2 separate regions of the Homo sapiens genome follow, and region 1 is linked to region 2. The links are contacts of gene promoters, found by promoter capture Hi-C in human tissues and cell types (Jung and others, 2019). All regions are on one chromosome and are shown on one strand. The core of a region is centred on a gene start or on the middle of the fragment in contact, and the rest is flanking DNA. Distances in the headings are between cores, read along the strand shown.

What was found. The method cuts DNA at HindIII sites, captures the fragments that hold promoters and counts their contacts. A contact is called where the count stands out against the background at its distance.
Region 1: a contact is called between a fragment that was not itself captured here and the fragment with the promoter of IL1RAPL1 in region 2, in 1 of the 25 tissues and cell types used here (hippocampus).

Annotation. Positions count from the first base shown.
Region 1 is chrX:29,224,229-29,232,013 of GRCh38, forward strand. The region is part of intron 2 of IL1RAPL1 (interleukin 1 receptor accessory protein like 1); the gene reads left to right. Among named protein-coding and RNA genes, the nearest start is that of MIR4666B, 350 kb to the right of the region's middle. RefSeq lists an enhancer at 1,201-2,074. The HindIII fragment of the contact is 3,274 bases long and covers 2,394-5,667 here.
Region 2 is chrX:28,585,088-28,592,876 of GRCh38, forward strand. IL1RAPL1 (interleukin 1 receptor accessory protein like 1) reads left to right here and starts at 2,359. Exons shown (of 11, transcript NM_014271.4): 1 at 2,359-2,960. RefSeq lists an enhancer at 6,020-7,219. The HindIII fragment of the contact is 4,831 bases long and covers 340-5,170 here.

The DNA.
Region 1 (7,785 bases), core at 2,781-5,280, 640 kb after region 2:
GGTACTCTTTAAACTCATGCTATGTTGTCAGTATTAACATTTCCAAAGTCACTAGGTTTAAATTTTAGAGACTTACTTTCTGACTACCGGCTCCAAGCATTTATTTTAGCCTATGTGTACAAACATTCAGACTGGCTATGTGATGGAAAAGTAAAAAAAAAAAGATGACTTTTGTCCTGGCCCTCAAAATCTTATAGCTTAAGATCTAATTCTCCAAAAGTAGACAAAAGTTGCTTGAGTATTGGGTTGCACTTGTTTGTATAGTTTTTATTCAGATAAGAATAATGAAGACTCTTGTTCTCTCTTTCTATCTATTCCTTTATAATAATAGTAATCATCATCATCATCTCAGGCAACAGCATCCTCAATGCGGTAAATTTTGCCTATCATATAAAAAATACATTTGAATATATAGTTGTATCATGTTTACTTTCACTTTTTTGTAACATTTCAAAAAGTATTATTCTGCTATGACATTTTTTGGGCTTAGTCATAGAACAAATGTGAGCTGTTAGGGAACTTTAAATGTCTTAGTTTTATTGTTTATTTATAACTAAAGAGCATTTTTAGTCTACTGTAAAGGCAAGTTATCATATGCTAAACAACATAAAAATGACTGAATATTAAAGTTAAAACTTTTTTATGAGAAAATGAGAGACCCCTATGTGATTTATTTTAAAATAATCATTGCATATGCCCTCACACAGAAAATCAGAATGGTGTGATTGTTGCCTGCATGACCAAAATCGATTCTGCCTCCTTTGTGGTTAGCCAACACAGTGACTTCAGCACCTAGTAGACACAGGTTGTGTAGTTGTAGTGGTGCATCCTTAGTGTTATGCTCTCCATTGCTGGCAGGACAGATTCTTTCATGCTTGTCTTCTTTAAAGCATTGACTTAATTTTTCAACTGAAAACAGTAAGTGACAAATGGAGCACAGAGTATTTTAGAACATACCCAGAAAGAGCACTTAAAGACAATAAGAAATACTCAAATAATTGAAATAGGAATATTTTTATTATTATGTCATTAAACTAGCTGGTGCTTATCTGACATTTCCATGTTAGACATCCGTGCTTATCTAACATTGTAATGTTCCACGTTCCAAGTCTGTTTTATCTTGACCTGTGCACTATTAAGTACCAGCAGAGAGTGATCAATATTATTGTCCAAAGCAGTGCATCACAACCTTTACTGGGCACTGGAAACACCTGAGGATCTTGTTAAACTGCAAATTCGGATTCAGACATGAGGCTGAGAGTCTTGTAAAAGAAAAATTGAACAGATCGGTTAAACAGGTAAAGTAGACTTTATTGAGGACTGTTGTAATAGGAGAGAGTTTCATCTCAACTCTTCCACTGAAGCAAAAGGTGAAAGGATTTTTAAATGCTGGGGTGAGCTAATGGAAAAGTACTGGAGGACATAGGCAGGATGGAGAATGTGATTGGGCTGGTTAATATGATTAGGCCACCTGTGTTTGCTAATGGTACCTTATCAAAGTTAGGCTCCTACACTCCTATAGAGACTGGGAAGTAGGGCCCTATCTTTCTTGATGATTACATTTCAAAGGATTGGCGCCCAGGTCCTTGAGAAAGAATTTCCTAGGTTGTAGAAGGTTTACATCTGAAAGGGGCAGAGAAGGAATTTACAATTGCAAATTTTCCAAAGTAATCGCTCTACAAAAAAGGAGGTAATAGGCCTATCTATAGTCAGAAAGAAGCTTGTCTAAAGTTGGGAGGGGGGGACCATTAAGGCCATTGTGGTCAGTCAGTATTTCTACAAACTCCCAGGTGGTGTCAATGCCATTGGTCTGCAAACCACAGGTCTGCACTGTTACACTGATAGGAAAGATTCCATATTGATGATTCATGTTAACGCATTTTCTAGCTTATACAGTGTACTGTATATAGAAGTGTGTATTTGAAATGGTCAATACCATTGTCTGTCTAGATGGATAATAAAAGTTGTTGTGTACAATATTTATAGAATGATATCTTTTCATACTTCTAGAGGCCTACTCAGAACATCTGAGTCTCTCCTGATGAGATGAAATTTGGAATAAGTTATGTCCCAGAATTCAGGACACATTTGATGTTTAACTTATTTCACTATGAGAAAAGTAGTGTTATAATGATGTTCCACAGTTGTATTTTGTTTTAATTATTCTCATTAAGCCCCTAGCAAACAGGTTGCTTCATCATTTTTTTCTTTCTTTCTTTTTTTTTTTTTTTTTGAAATGGTGTTTTGCTCTTGGAATGCAGTGGCACAATCTCGGCTCACTGCAACCTCCGCCTCCTGGGTTCAAGCAATTTTCCTTCCTTAGCCTCCCGAGTAGCTGGGATTACAGTGCCCGCCACCACATCTGGCTAATTTTTTTTGTATTTTTAGTAGAGACGGGGTTTCATCACGTTGGCCAGGCTGGTCTTGAACTCCTGACCTCAGACGATCCACATGCCTCGGCCTCCCAAAGTGCAGGGATTACAGGCGTGAGCCACTGTACTGGCTGATTCGTCCATTTTTAACAGATGAAAAAAAAACTGTAATCAATTTTGGTCAGTGACAGTGCAAAAAATGCAATTTAATACTACAAATACTTATTACCTGATAAAGTTCTCAAATAATGAGCTAAAATAGAATGGATATGCCAAAACTGTAGCAAATCATTAAAGACAAAATAATAACATTCCAGGGACTTAAAACAAATTGAATTCTCCAAAGAACATTATTATAAACTAATATTCCTAATTGCATAGGAATGGAAGATTTTTTTTTTTTTAATGTTAGTCATAGGAGTTTCAAGACATTTGAATCACCTGCGTGGACACTGGCTTTTATCCTATTAAATTTAATGTGGTAATTTAGAGTGTTTTTATTAGAATAATCAACATTCTAAAATGCAATCATTAGCATATTTGGCATAGAAAATAGATCTGAAATGAACCCAAAAAATGAGCTTTAAAAATTGCTAAAACTAGCAGTGTATAATGGTAACACAATCCAAAGGTCAAAAAACACAATGATTAATTAAAACTAAAGAATAATAATTAATTAGTAGTATTAAGAAAGCTTTGCCTCCTTTTCAAAAAAAAAAAGCTAAAAAGGAAAGTTGTTGAATGTTATTGTTTTTAAAGACCAGCTTTTCATGAATGAAGTTTTTAATCCTTTCAAAGCCTAATCTAAATTTAAGAATTCAAACAAAAAATCCCTAATATTTTAATTTGCAATCAGGAGAGGTTCAATCAGACTAAGACTTTTTAATTTGACAGTCTCCTTTTTAACACATAGAGCTACTTCTTTGATCTGCCTTGGTTAATGAAATGGATGAGTTCCAATAAATTTGGATGCAAAGTAATAATCAACAGAATTCCATTTCCCATTGATTTTCATTGTAAACTTGTATCACTTTTTTGACATAAAATAAGCACTCTCTGGAATGAATAATTTAATTTGAAATATGAATAAAAAATAAATTATGGTGCAGAATATTGCTAAGTCCTTCATACATTTGCAGCACTTTGCATCTACCACTGCTTACTTCCTAGACAGAGAACCATTTCCTATAATAATAGCTAAAACCCATGAAGGATTTCCTATCTGGAAATAGTTTCTATAACCTTTACATCTATTCATCTTCATGATTACATTGTTTAATGGGTACTATAGAGATCGTCAGCATCCCCATTTTACATAAATTGTAAGTGCCAGAGTTTTGGTTTAAACCAGGTTGTCTGACTCCAAACTCTTCACTTAAAAAATATATTTTATTTTTATAGATAATAATACAAATACTGAAAATATTTACAAAACAAATTTACAGGTAATGAACACTCTTATTACTAATGAAGGCAAATGCCTTTATTACTATCCTTGATGTCAGAAGCTAGAACCTTGCGAGCCATTCCAGAAACTTTCCACGTGCCTTCTTATAACCATCTCCGGACACACGCGTGCACACACACACACACACACACACACACACACACACACACACACACAACTGTGACCATTATGATGATTTTATTTTTTGGAATGGCATCCTTACTTTTCTTCATAGTTTTGTCACTCAAATATGCATCCCTAAACACTGTAGTTTAGTTTTGCCTAGTGTGTGTGTGTGTGTGTGTGTGTGTGTGTGTGTGTGTGTGAGACAGAGTCTCACCCTGTTACCCAGGCTGGAGTGCAGTGATGCGATCTCTGCTCACTGCAACCTCCGCCTTCTGGGTTCAAACGATTCTCCTCCCTCAGCCTCCCGAGTAGCTGGGATTACAGATGCGTGCCACCACACCTGGCTAATTTTTGTATTTTTAGTAGAGATGCGGTTTCACCATGTTAGCCAGGCTGGTCTCAAACTCCTGACCTCCTGATCCACCCGCCTCGTCCTCCCAAAGTGCTGGGATTACAGGCGTGAGCCACCGCACCTGGCCAGTTTTGCCTAATTTTTAAAATCTATTAAGTTTCTTTTAATCTATAGGTTTCTTCCTTTATCTTTTTCTTTTATTTAAACAGTATATGTGTTGAGGAAGCTAAATAGTTTGTTCTGTAGTCTTCCGTGGACTGGCTTTTGCTGCCTGTGTTTTTGTGATGCAATTTGTTTTGTTTCACTATCATCCGTATTCCCTATCTGCCTTGTTGCCTTGCCTGAAGATCACCAAATTTCAAGGACTTCTTTCCTGCTCTGCTCCAAGGCACTTCTCAGCCCACTCTGGATGTGCGTGGGTGGTGGCCAGTAGAGGTGGGCTGCAATTACTGGCTTCTTTAGTAAGAGCTGTGAGGTTACATATATTCAACTCTGGGTTTCTAAAGGCCCATCCAAGGACAAGTTCCAGGGAAGATAGGGCATGCATGAGTTTGAGGCAGAATGAGAAAAATAAGCAACATACAATACATTTTTTCATAAAATTAAATTTCTCCTTTTAAAGAAGTGTTCTTTATTATATTTCAGTTAGCCTACTGTTTCATTGGCATCGTTTCCCTTTCATTGTTTGTATTTTTGTTTTGGTGAAACAAAAAATTAGAAACCCAATGTCAGTCTTTGTTCTCTTCTTATGATGCTAATTTCCAAAATTGAAAAGTGTTGGAAACTCTGCTTTAGCCTTAAATTTTCTGCAGAAAATTACATTTTGAATTTTCATAAAAGAAATTATTGGTCTTAACCCATTCTGTATGATAATTTTTAAAAAAAAAAAACTCTCTAAAGTGTACCTTGAAAAATAGTACCTGTGATTTGTCTAAGCTTTTGAATAATTCATTCTATCTCAAATGTATTTCTACCACTAAAGTTGCTATACCACTTTATGGAAAGAAGAAAAGCAACTTTCCTTTTTTGTACAGGAAACTTGAAAGTTCATCTCATGGAAGGTGTGGAGAGAAAGGTGGCTATGTAATTCTCCTTTGGATATTTCTGGATCTGTTTCTCAATCAGATTGGTTCCGTTCACACTGCCTGCTGTCATGAAAGTTTATGCCTCGCATGCAATGCCAGCATAAATTTCTCAGCACAAAACAGCTCTGCTTGTTAAGGAAGATGTTCTGAATTATCAAATATATATTTTTTAATTAGCCACCCTTTCTTATGCTTTCAGAATATATATTAAAGTGATCTGGGGTATTTCATGTTAATGTAAGAAAAACAATCCAAACTCCCTTTGTTTCTTGACTTAGCTTATTATATCTTCAGTACTTGCAAACTGTGTGATACATGATCAGTCACAGCACACTGCTATTTACTGAGCATCCATGGCCACTGGCTGACGTGGCATTGAATATAACATTGTATTGTTGCTCTAAGCCTTTTAGCCTTCGTGCTAAATGACTCAACCCATCACAAGAAATTTATAATGGACATATAACTCACCTAGTTAGTCTGCATGAGATTGATTTGTTGTGAAGTTATTGGCTATAATGTCTTTGAGAGGATAGGCCTTCATTTCAAATAAAGACAGCCTCATTTATGGATTTCAAAGCATGTCTATACACTGTAAGTCTGTATTAAAGAAATGGGATGAAGCCAGCTGTTAAAAACAAGAAAATATGTGCAAAAGGATTTGGAGTTGACTGTATTATATAGAAGTATTAAATTAGGAGCTTTAGGGCATACTGAAGCTTCATATTGTTTGAAAGTTTATTTTGAATTCTGTAGAAAAATGAGTACTGTTAATTAGGTGATGTGGTTTCAGCATTCTCAGGCGTCTGCTCCCCACAGTATCAAAACCTTTGCCCAAGTCCACTCACTTTATTGTGACCCCTGTAGATGCTCTATCATTATGGTCCCTTTACCAAAAAAAAAAAAAAAAAAAAAAAAAAAAAAACCTTGTTGTCTCTCAGGCAACCAGCGCTTTTTGTCAGCCTATTTCATCTCCCCATCCCTTCCTACAATCGTTTATACTACTGAAAACTTGAAAGCCCACATCCCATTCTCTCCTGGATCTCTAGGCCTACCAAAGTTTCTTTCTAAAACCATGAAATGACCACAAGTTAATTTGATGAAGTGATTCATAATAAATTGTTAATAAGAAGTGACCTACAACTAGGTCAGGTCATTCTTCAACCACCTATTTTATTAGTGATCCCCCACAGGCAATACATGTGACTGAAGCTGGAATTTGAACTTTCTGTGATGAGGGCCCTGTAGCGTATATGTGAGACCTCTGGTAGCAGGAGTCTCTGAGAGCCTCTAACTCATGGTAGTCTGAAATAGACATAGGCAAAGCCCCAGGGACATTTTTAAGAGAGCTGTTGTAAGTAATCCAGTATTATAAGTTAAGTCTGTCCTGTATTCATCAGAAAAAAACAGAATCTGCTGCTACAAGATATTAGGATTTCTGGTCTTAAGCAACAGACTTGAATTTCACTACCTGGATTCTTCTCTTTGGCTTCATGTTTGCAGATAGGATGGTTGAGGAGGATGGAGCTATTGAGAGGGTGGCTGCTCTGTGCAGTTGCTTTTGTTTATATTCTTACTGACCTGGCACAGTGTAGGTGGAGGTGATGCATGTTTTCTGACATTGGGCCAGTGATGTATGGCCTGACCTTCAAAATGAGAAACATCATCTCTGTGGGTGAGACTATAGCCGTGCAAATGCTTTTATCCCATATTGCTCAGCAGTTTGCAACCGGTTCTGATAAAAAGCACCCACCCCGCTGAGTTCGCTGAAGCTTGTATATTGGTTTTAGGTTGAACATTTTGGCAAATTAACGACTGAGTGAAACCATAAAATTGGTTTTATTTACAACAAAGCCTTGTGGTGTCTGTTGGTTGTTCTTACATCTCTTTCCTTTAATCTTTGAGGTTGTTTCTGTAGGTGGCTTATCTAACTTTACATTGAAATTTGCATTCATTTCAGGATAATACTTCCCCTGGGTTTCTTCTTAATTGACATTGGACATGGTCTGCATTCTCAAACTTTGTGCATAAAGTTGGTAACTATACAGAGTCCTAGTTTACGCCTACCCCAGGTGATTCTGATTCGGGAGATGTGAGATGGAAACCCAAACTACACATTGTTAGTCAGTAGGTGACTCCCCCAGTGTGAATCTACTGATCTCATGTTTAGAAATACTGCTGTATACCATGCAAAGCTGTCATTTTCTAACTCTGCTAAACAATAAAGGTTCACAAGCCATACTTCTGATTTGCCATAAAGTTCGAGTTTTTCTCCATTTGGTTCAATGGTGTTGCTATGGATGGCATTCATAGCAAATGATAAGATTGGGCATAGTATACTTTGAGTGAATTCTTAGTTTTCCTTAGAACAACAAGATAATGAGTTAGAATTATAAGAGAGCC
Region 2 (7,789 bases), core at 1,109-3,608:
AGAGGACGTGATTTTTGTACCATATGGAGCTGGACAGCACGTTGGCAACTGGTTAATTTCAACCTGTCATTTTATAGACAAGGAAACTGAGGCCAAGAGAAATTAAAGTGATTCCCTTGGGTAATTATGGCTACTTAGGAGTAGAATTTAGACTCAAATCTAGGATTGGAGCCTACGGTCAAGACGTTTACTTTTAAATTTTGCTTGAAGCAATTACATTTACACTTGTTACTTGTGCCCCCCTCCAGGTCTGCTTGAGGTCTATTCACATTCAACTGGGTCAACTAGAGGACTGTGATGGAAGGTATAGAAAATCTAGATCACTCACGTTGAAAGGAGGGGAATATATTTCCTCTTCACTTCTAATCTTCAGTTTAGGCTGAATTATAGCATGTGGGGAAGAAGCAGAGGGAAGAAAAACACTGGCACAGAAGATGTGAACATGGGTGAGTTAGCTTCAAAGAAACCTTGTAAGACTTGCCTACCGACTTTAACCACATTTTCCCTCTGCTTAGGTTGGAAATTTCAGTGTACTGCTCCTTTTTTCGAAATACAGTTTTACCTCCCTGTCTAGTCTCCCTGCCTGCTGTTATTCTCACCTGCGCGCTTAGTTTGTATTCGTTTAGCTCACATTTTACCTAATTTTTAAAGTGTTTTCTTTATCTTGATGCGTGTTTTACTCCCCAAATTAAAACAGTTCTGAAGGGCCAAGGCTACTTTACCTATTTATTCTATTTTTGGTTTATCCGGTTAAGCCTGCCATTACAAAAGCTTGTGGGATACATTACAAAATGGGTTAAGGTTTTTAAGTACATGGGCTGCCGGTGTTGAATGGGAAAGGTTGCAGGGTGGGGAGAGGGAGAGAAGTAACTAGAAAAGCGGCTCGCTGCCTTTTAATCATCCAGCCTACTCAGCTGCCGGAAACTGACACTGTTGCTGCAGTGTAAACATTAACATTTTTTAAGGGTCTTGCTACTCCAAATGTGGTCCACAGCCCAGCAACATTATTATGGGCCACGGGCGAGCTTATTAGAAACGCAGGGTCTCAGGCCTCACTCCAGATGTACCGAATCCGAATCTGCATTTTAACAAGACACCCAGGTGACGGTGTGTACATCAAAGTTTGAGAATCACGGAATCACATGTGAGTGTTATACTATCCCAATGTAAATGGTCAAGGACCTTAAATTGAGCAAATAACCTAATGTATTTACCCGTACCTACTTTGACCCTCTTTCTTCATCACAAATTCATCTCAGAAACCAGCAGCGAACTCTTTTGCAGGGAACTCAATTACGCGGTGGATGGGAGGAGGATCCTCTTCAATACCCTCCCCTCCGCTCCTCCTCCCACTCCCCACCCCCACCCCGCACTCCCAGAGAGCCTTCCACAGGCACCCTTCTCCCAAGCCCCACTCACTTAGGGAAGATTTTGCTCCTCCCCCAAACTGAAAGCGCGGCTGTGAGGAGGGTTACTGCTTGAAGGACTCACAGTTTGCATATCAATACAGACAGAGGCACTTTTGCAAAACTGCCCTTTAGAAACAATTATCATCTTAGCACCTGAGGTTTGTTTGGAGCAGCCCCCGCACCCCTTCTCTCTTGTAATCCATCTTAAAGTGATACGGAGAATGGGGGCGTTGGGGAGACAGTGATGGGGGTGGGAGGGTCGCGCGCAATAATAAATCTGCTTCAAAGAGAAGAGATGAAAAGGAGGTTATCAAGAGTGTGTCGGCTTAGGCATCACTCTCTGTATCTTTCTGCTTCCTAGAGAAATGGAACCATAATTCTAAGGTGGCTAAGGCAAGACTGTATAAGCATCCAAATTTGCCAGTCTGCTTTTGCCTGGAAGAACAGATTTCCGTTATTTGAAGCCTCCCAGGGTCCTTTCCAAAAGATTCCCAGGCTACCTTCCTTCCACTTCGGTCTTCTGAGAACTCAAACTCGCAAAGCGGTGGCTGTCTGTGGATTGGCTAGTACTAAAATATCCATTGGGTGGCAGTAATACTATCCTCTTTATGACTTGCAGCAAACCAGAGAATGCATTCAATCAAATGAACCGATCTTGTAGAAACACTGGAATCATTTATGCGTTGCAGTTTCTCTTTCTTGTTTTCGCTCCTTCTTCCCTGGGATATTTTGAGTGGATTGTGGCTATTAATCAAGATCTCGTGCTATTCGTGTTTTGCTTGTGGTTTTCGCTCAGGATTAGCATCATTCAAGGCAAACGCAAAGCTGCTTTTCCCACCCCCCCCCCCGACTCTTTTTTGAAAAATCATTTTTGGGGGCTGCTGAGGAGAGCTAGGACCCAGGAGACACCTTCCCAAACAGCAGGGGTTGTGTGCTTTCACATAGCAGTACTGTACAAGGAAAACCCCGTCGGATCTGTTATTGCGGGATACTTGTGAAATATACATAGGATTCTTTCTTATGGCTGCATCCCGGATCTGGAAATTTTACTTGGGGACCAGGAGGATTTGAAAGGCTGCATGTACTCAGAAGATTTGCAAGCAACACTCCAATTCTTGTCATAGAGCTCGCAGACTTCTCACTTATCGGCTTTTTTCCTTCCTTATTTTTTAAGAATTATTCTTATTTTCCCCTCTCTTTTTCTGCTCTCTCCTCTCTCAGTCTCTCCTTTTCTATCTGCCTCTTCATTTTTCTCCTAGTCTGTTTTTTTTTTTCCTGCTCTGCACCTGGATTGTATCTTCAGCAAACAATCGGGCACTTTGAGAACTAACTGGAGACAGTCTTGTAGGGAAGATCTGTATGGAATTATCTGCTTTTATGGTGAACTTGGCATTTGTGAATGGGAATCTTGTTCACAATATTAATTGCTAGCAAAAACAAGAAAAAGAACACAGGAGTAAAACGTGGATTTTTCTGAATACGCATTGTGATGACCAGCAATTACCTTACCGACTAATATCCAGAGGAGAATAATTTGGAAGACTGTTGTGGGTAAGGTCATTTTATATATGCAAACCCATCAGTGGCATGAGCAAACTTGGGCATTTGTAATGGGAATGGGTGACTTGAATGATTGCTGCATCGCATTGATGGCTGTGATGTGGCCGTTATTGGCACTGAATGGAATAACTGCAGTTGGGTGTGTTGATATGTGTGTGTGTGTGTGTGTGTGTGTGTGTGTGTGTGTGTGTATGTGTGTGTGCGTGTGTGTGTATATGTATGTGTGCCCGTATTCTGAGTGCAATTGAAAATCAAAGTATCACTCTCTCCCCCAATTATTTTGATATGGAAGAGTGTCTTGAATTAATTCTGGGTAGACACTCTTTGTTTGAATGTAATATTTGTGGCCCCTGCGTTCTGGAAGGGGTAGCAGCAGTAAAAGAAACACTTAGTGAAGAGCCCCATTTAAAATGAAACGAGCTACTCTCTATGCATTAAAAGAAATATGTTTTCAACTCAGTGCAGCATTCTGCTGCATTTCACAGCCGCAATGGGACCAGGGACATCCCACTTGTCAAGTTCTTAAACTTTAAGGTGATAATCATCGTTAATTGTTCTCTAGGTTGTGGTTACTGGAGATTATTAAGCGCCCTGGGCTACTTTTTTATCTACTGGATTATCACTCAGAGTGAAAAAAGGAAAAGAAAAGAAAAAGCTAAAAATGATGGCTAACATAGAGAAGAATAAGGCAACATTATCTTAAATATCACCACAGTGCTTTCTTTCTCAAGTTCAATTGCCCAATAATATAATTATTTACCCAATATCCTAAATAGCTGAAGCTGAGACCCACGTGCAGGGGAGTCGAAGGTCTGAAAGCAGAGACCGTCCTTTTATTGCAATGCAGCCAGCTTGGGAAATGCAGGCAATTAATTACATACTTCCCCTAACCTTAAGTTGAAGATGTGTCCTGTCTGCTACATCTATTTTACCCTTTCGGTAAAAAGTTAGAGACTAGAACACTAAGGATGTTTAAGCATATTCTGCCTGGGAAATGGGATAAAGAAATCAATATTGATGACGTGGTTCAGTGCACTGTACTGCAATGCTAAAGTTCCATATTCAGTGCCTGTGATGAGAGAGTGGAGCATTTACATATGTTATAAATCTCACCTGGTAGATTGATCCAAAGGGGAGGGGAGAAGATATGTGGATATGTAGGAAGATGGATGGAAGTCGTGCATAATCGGTGATTATGTAACTTCATTACATCAGCGAGTTTCAGTCAACGATAGTGAGATGAGATGATTGTATAGAGAGAGGCTCCATCACCCTGTTAACTTTTGAAGGCTTGTAACAGCTAACAGAGGAGGAGGGCAGAGAGAGATTAGCTCCAAGGGTCCTGTAAACCTTGATCTCTATGGCAAATTTTGCATGAGTTTTCTCATAGTGAGTTTCGGAGGGACATCAGATCATATAAGCTTTAGGGCTGGACAGGACCAATTTTAGCCACACCCGTGGAGAGTCAAAATGAGTCTGCGATGTTTCAGAAGTGCCCCATTGAGTAACTGGGACTGATGATTCCAGCCAAGGTCATAGTTCTTTACCCTAGGATTGAAATATATGACCCCAACTGAATGGAAAGTTAAATTCATTGAAATGATGACTGTGAACGGAATGAATATTTAGGGTCCTTTCTTGCATTTTTCCTGGTAGAGCTTGATGCAGATTTCAGCCTGGTGGTTCCCTCATAAAAATGATGATTGCTTCCACAGCGTGTCAGAAATGACTGTTTTGTCCCTTTATCTTAACCATGACAATCTCTTTCTGGGCCATTTTAACCTTCTGGGAAAAGAGAAGTAAAAGCATTCAAAGGTAACAGTACCCTGTTAAATTACAAATTAAATGGCACTGGATTCATTATTAACACAAATCCCAGAAAAAAAGAGCAATCCATGTTCAAGTTTCACTTATTGAATGGCTTAAAAGACAGGTTGCAGCTGCCAAAGACTTTTACCATCATATGAGATAAATGTACTGTGCTCACTGTGCAGAGAAGGGAATACTGCAGAATAAAATGTCATTTTCCCTCATGTTTTATCTGGAGTTGTGATTTTTTTTAAAGAAGATACACATCAGGTCCTTTTGGCCTTCTACTGTTTTAGGATCTGTTTTCTCCTCAATAGATCACATATTCACAAAAAATGAAACTTCTGAAATCCTAACCCTGTTCAGTTGAATCACCTTATTATCTAGTTGTGCTATTTCCTATTTCTCTTTACATTTATTTTACAAAGAGGGCTAAACGACTTTTCTGTCAGGGAGATGAGATGATTTTTTTCTGTTTTTCTTTTATTTCTCATATTCCATTTCCTTCCAGTCCTAAGGAGTAAGATGCAGAATCTAGACACCCTCTAAGTAACTTTGAAAAGATTTGCTCACCCTGAGTCAGAATGGTGGGATTGGGGAATGAAATTCTAAGGTCTGATATTTGAGGTGACTTTCATACTTCTGCAGGACATGCACAAACATTGATGTATTGTGCCAGTGGATTGGGAGGTTTGGCGTTCATATTGTGTAGGAAATTGAATGTGAATTTAACTCCTGATTCCTTCCTTCAGGGGTCAGGGTAGCACAACAGCTGCTTCCAGGCTGTTGGTTTCCAACTATGTGCACAAATATAGTCTGTAATGATTTTTCCTACTCCTTCTTTCAATATTTTATAAATGACTTCCTCAGTTGTTTTCTGACGTAAGCCACACATATGTTACCAAGCAGGGCATAGGTTTTCTAAGCTCAGTAGGAGATGGAAATAATAGCAGGATGGAAAAAGATTCTGTACAAAAAGACACTGGTTGTGAAGCAAATATACATATGTAATTGCTAACTCCTTACTTGAAGACTGCATATACTTCTATTAGGAAAGATAGTTTCAATCATGTTAATGGCACTTTATAAGCTGTTACTTTCTTTAGGAAGATTATGTAACTAAGGCAGGTTATGGCATTTTTCTTAAGTATCCTACACATTAGTAATAAAAAGCTTTGTCTAATAGGAAAGCATTTAAACATGATGGCAGTGGGTAATTTGAAATGTAACATCTATTTTCTATTTTATTTCCATTTTGTCAGCCGCAGTCATGTAGTTAGGTTAGAAAATATTTGGGAAAAAAAGAAATACCATTTATGAATATGAAAGCTATCAATTTTGCTTCCTGACCAGTTGCTTCAGCAAAGTAAGGAGATTTAGCAGATAAGTAATCACGGTATTCCTAAAACTAGAGAAAATTTTAAATTGAATTTTCATTATGTTTGCAACATATGTGAACAAATCAGTATTACTTTTAAAATGGCTATTAGATAAAACATTTTAAAGAACAGTTGAACTTTGAAGATTTATATTTCAGAATTTGTTAGTTTGTTACACACTGAAATGTTTGGGATGTACTTTGACTTACAACAGATATGATGTTTGGTGTTTGGCAAATCTTGTGTTTTTATAAAGCAGACTACTCTATAATTTGTAGCAACAAAACAAGTGTTGATTATTGAGATTTAAAAGTAGCAAGTTTTCTGGTGATGCTCAAGTTATAAAGCATAATTATAATTGTACCGGTTGGGCAGCTATAGGTAAGGTCGCGTCAGCCTTTTTATTACTAAATTCCAACCCTATTTCCATTAGGTTTATCGGGAATCTCAAAGAGGAGAGTCCAGTTCTGTGAGACATCAAGGCATTGTAGAATTCCGGGCTGAGTCAGAGGGCTCGAAACTGTACTTCCGGCTCTGTCAATTACTAGCCTTGTGACCTCTGACACCACATTTGATTTCTCAGTGTTCCAGAGAATCATTTTTTAAAAAAATAAATAGTTGCACATTGCTCTACAGAAAGGAGATAATATGTGTCTAAGTACTTACCACCATCCTATGCCTTAGAAATATATGGAATTATTATTAAGGATTCCCTTAAGTCTTATTAATTTAGCTGTGCATGTTTTTTACACCCTTATTGTAAATCTGAATAGGTGCTTTCTAGTAGCAATTACAGTTAGCTGTACATAATACTGTTCAGTGATTAACCAACAAAGACAAATTAAAAGCTTTGTTGGTTAACTTTCACTCAGTACTCAGTTTTTTCCAGAAGTACTCATATGGGAATATAGTTGTCTTAAGTAATTAAAAAAATAGTTGCTTTTGAATAACATTCAAACAGTGGTAACTAAGGGTTTTATGTGTGAGAGTGTTTTCTGCAGATTGCTTTTTAAAAAATGCTTCTGAGTACTTAGGAGTTTCTGTTTCTGCTACCAAGAGCACACAAACAAATGTACACAAACTTGATGCTACTTCACAGACTGAGTACATTGACCAGAAAGTGACTCTTGTCTTTCAGTATATTAACAAAAGCATAATGAGTTTGAATACCAAGTGTAATAGAGAAAATGAGAATATAAAGATACCCGGTCTGTTTGGAATTTTCTAGTTGTAATAATTACTAACTTTCTTTAGGGGGAGGCAATCCCCCATGTGTCACTACTAAAACTGCATCTCTTTAATGTTCTTGTATCTTAACAGAATGATATTTACATATATGCAAAGAGGATAGTTTAGTGATATGAGCTTCCATGTATGTTTTTCAGTGACTGAATAATCAGGTTACAGAGTAAGTTTTTGTATTTTGGTTAAAATAGAATTGGAAAGTGCAAAATTAACCCTGTAATAAATTAGTAGTCCTGGGCTTAAAATAAAGAATTTTCATGTTGTAGAGCAACCTCCTCTTCGTAACTTCCCAGTGTCTTGCTTTTCTTTTCAAGGATTCCCAATATATTTTTGTTTCAGATGAATTTCATTATGCATGTTTATCTGACTTCATTGATGCCTATTAAT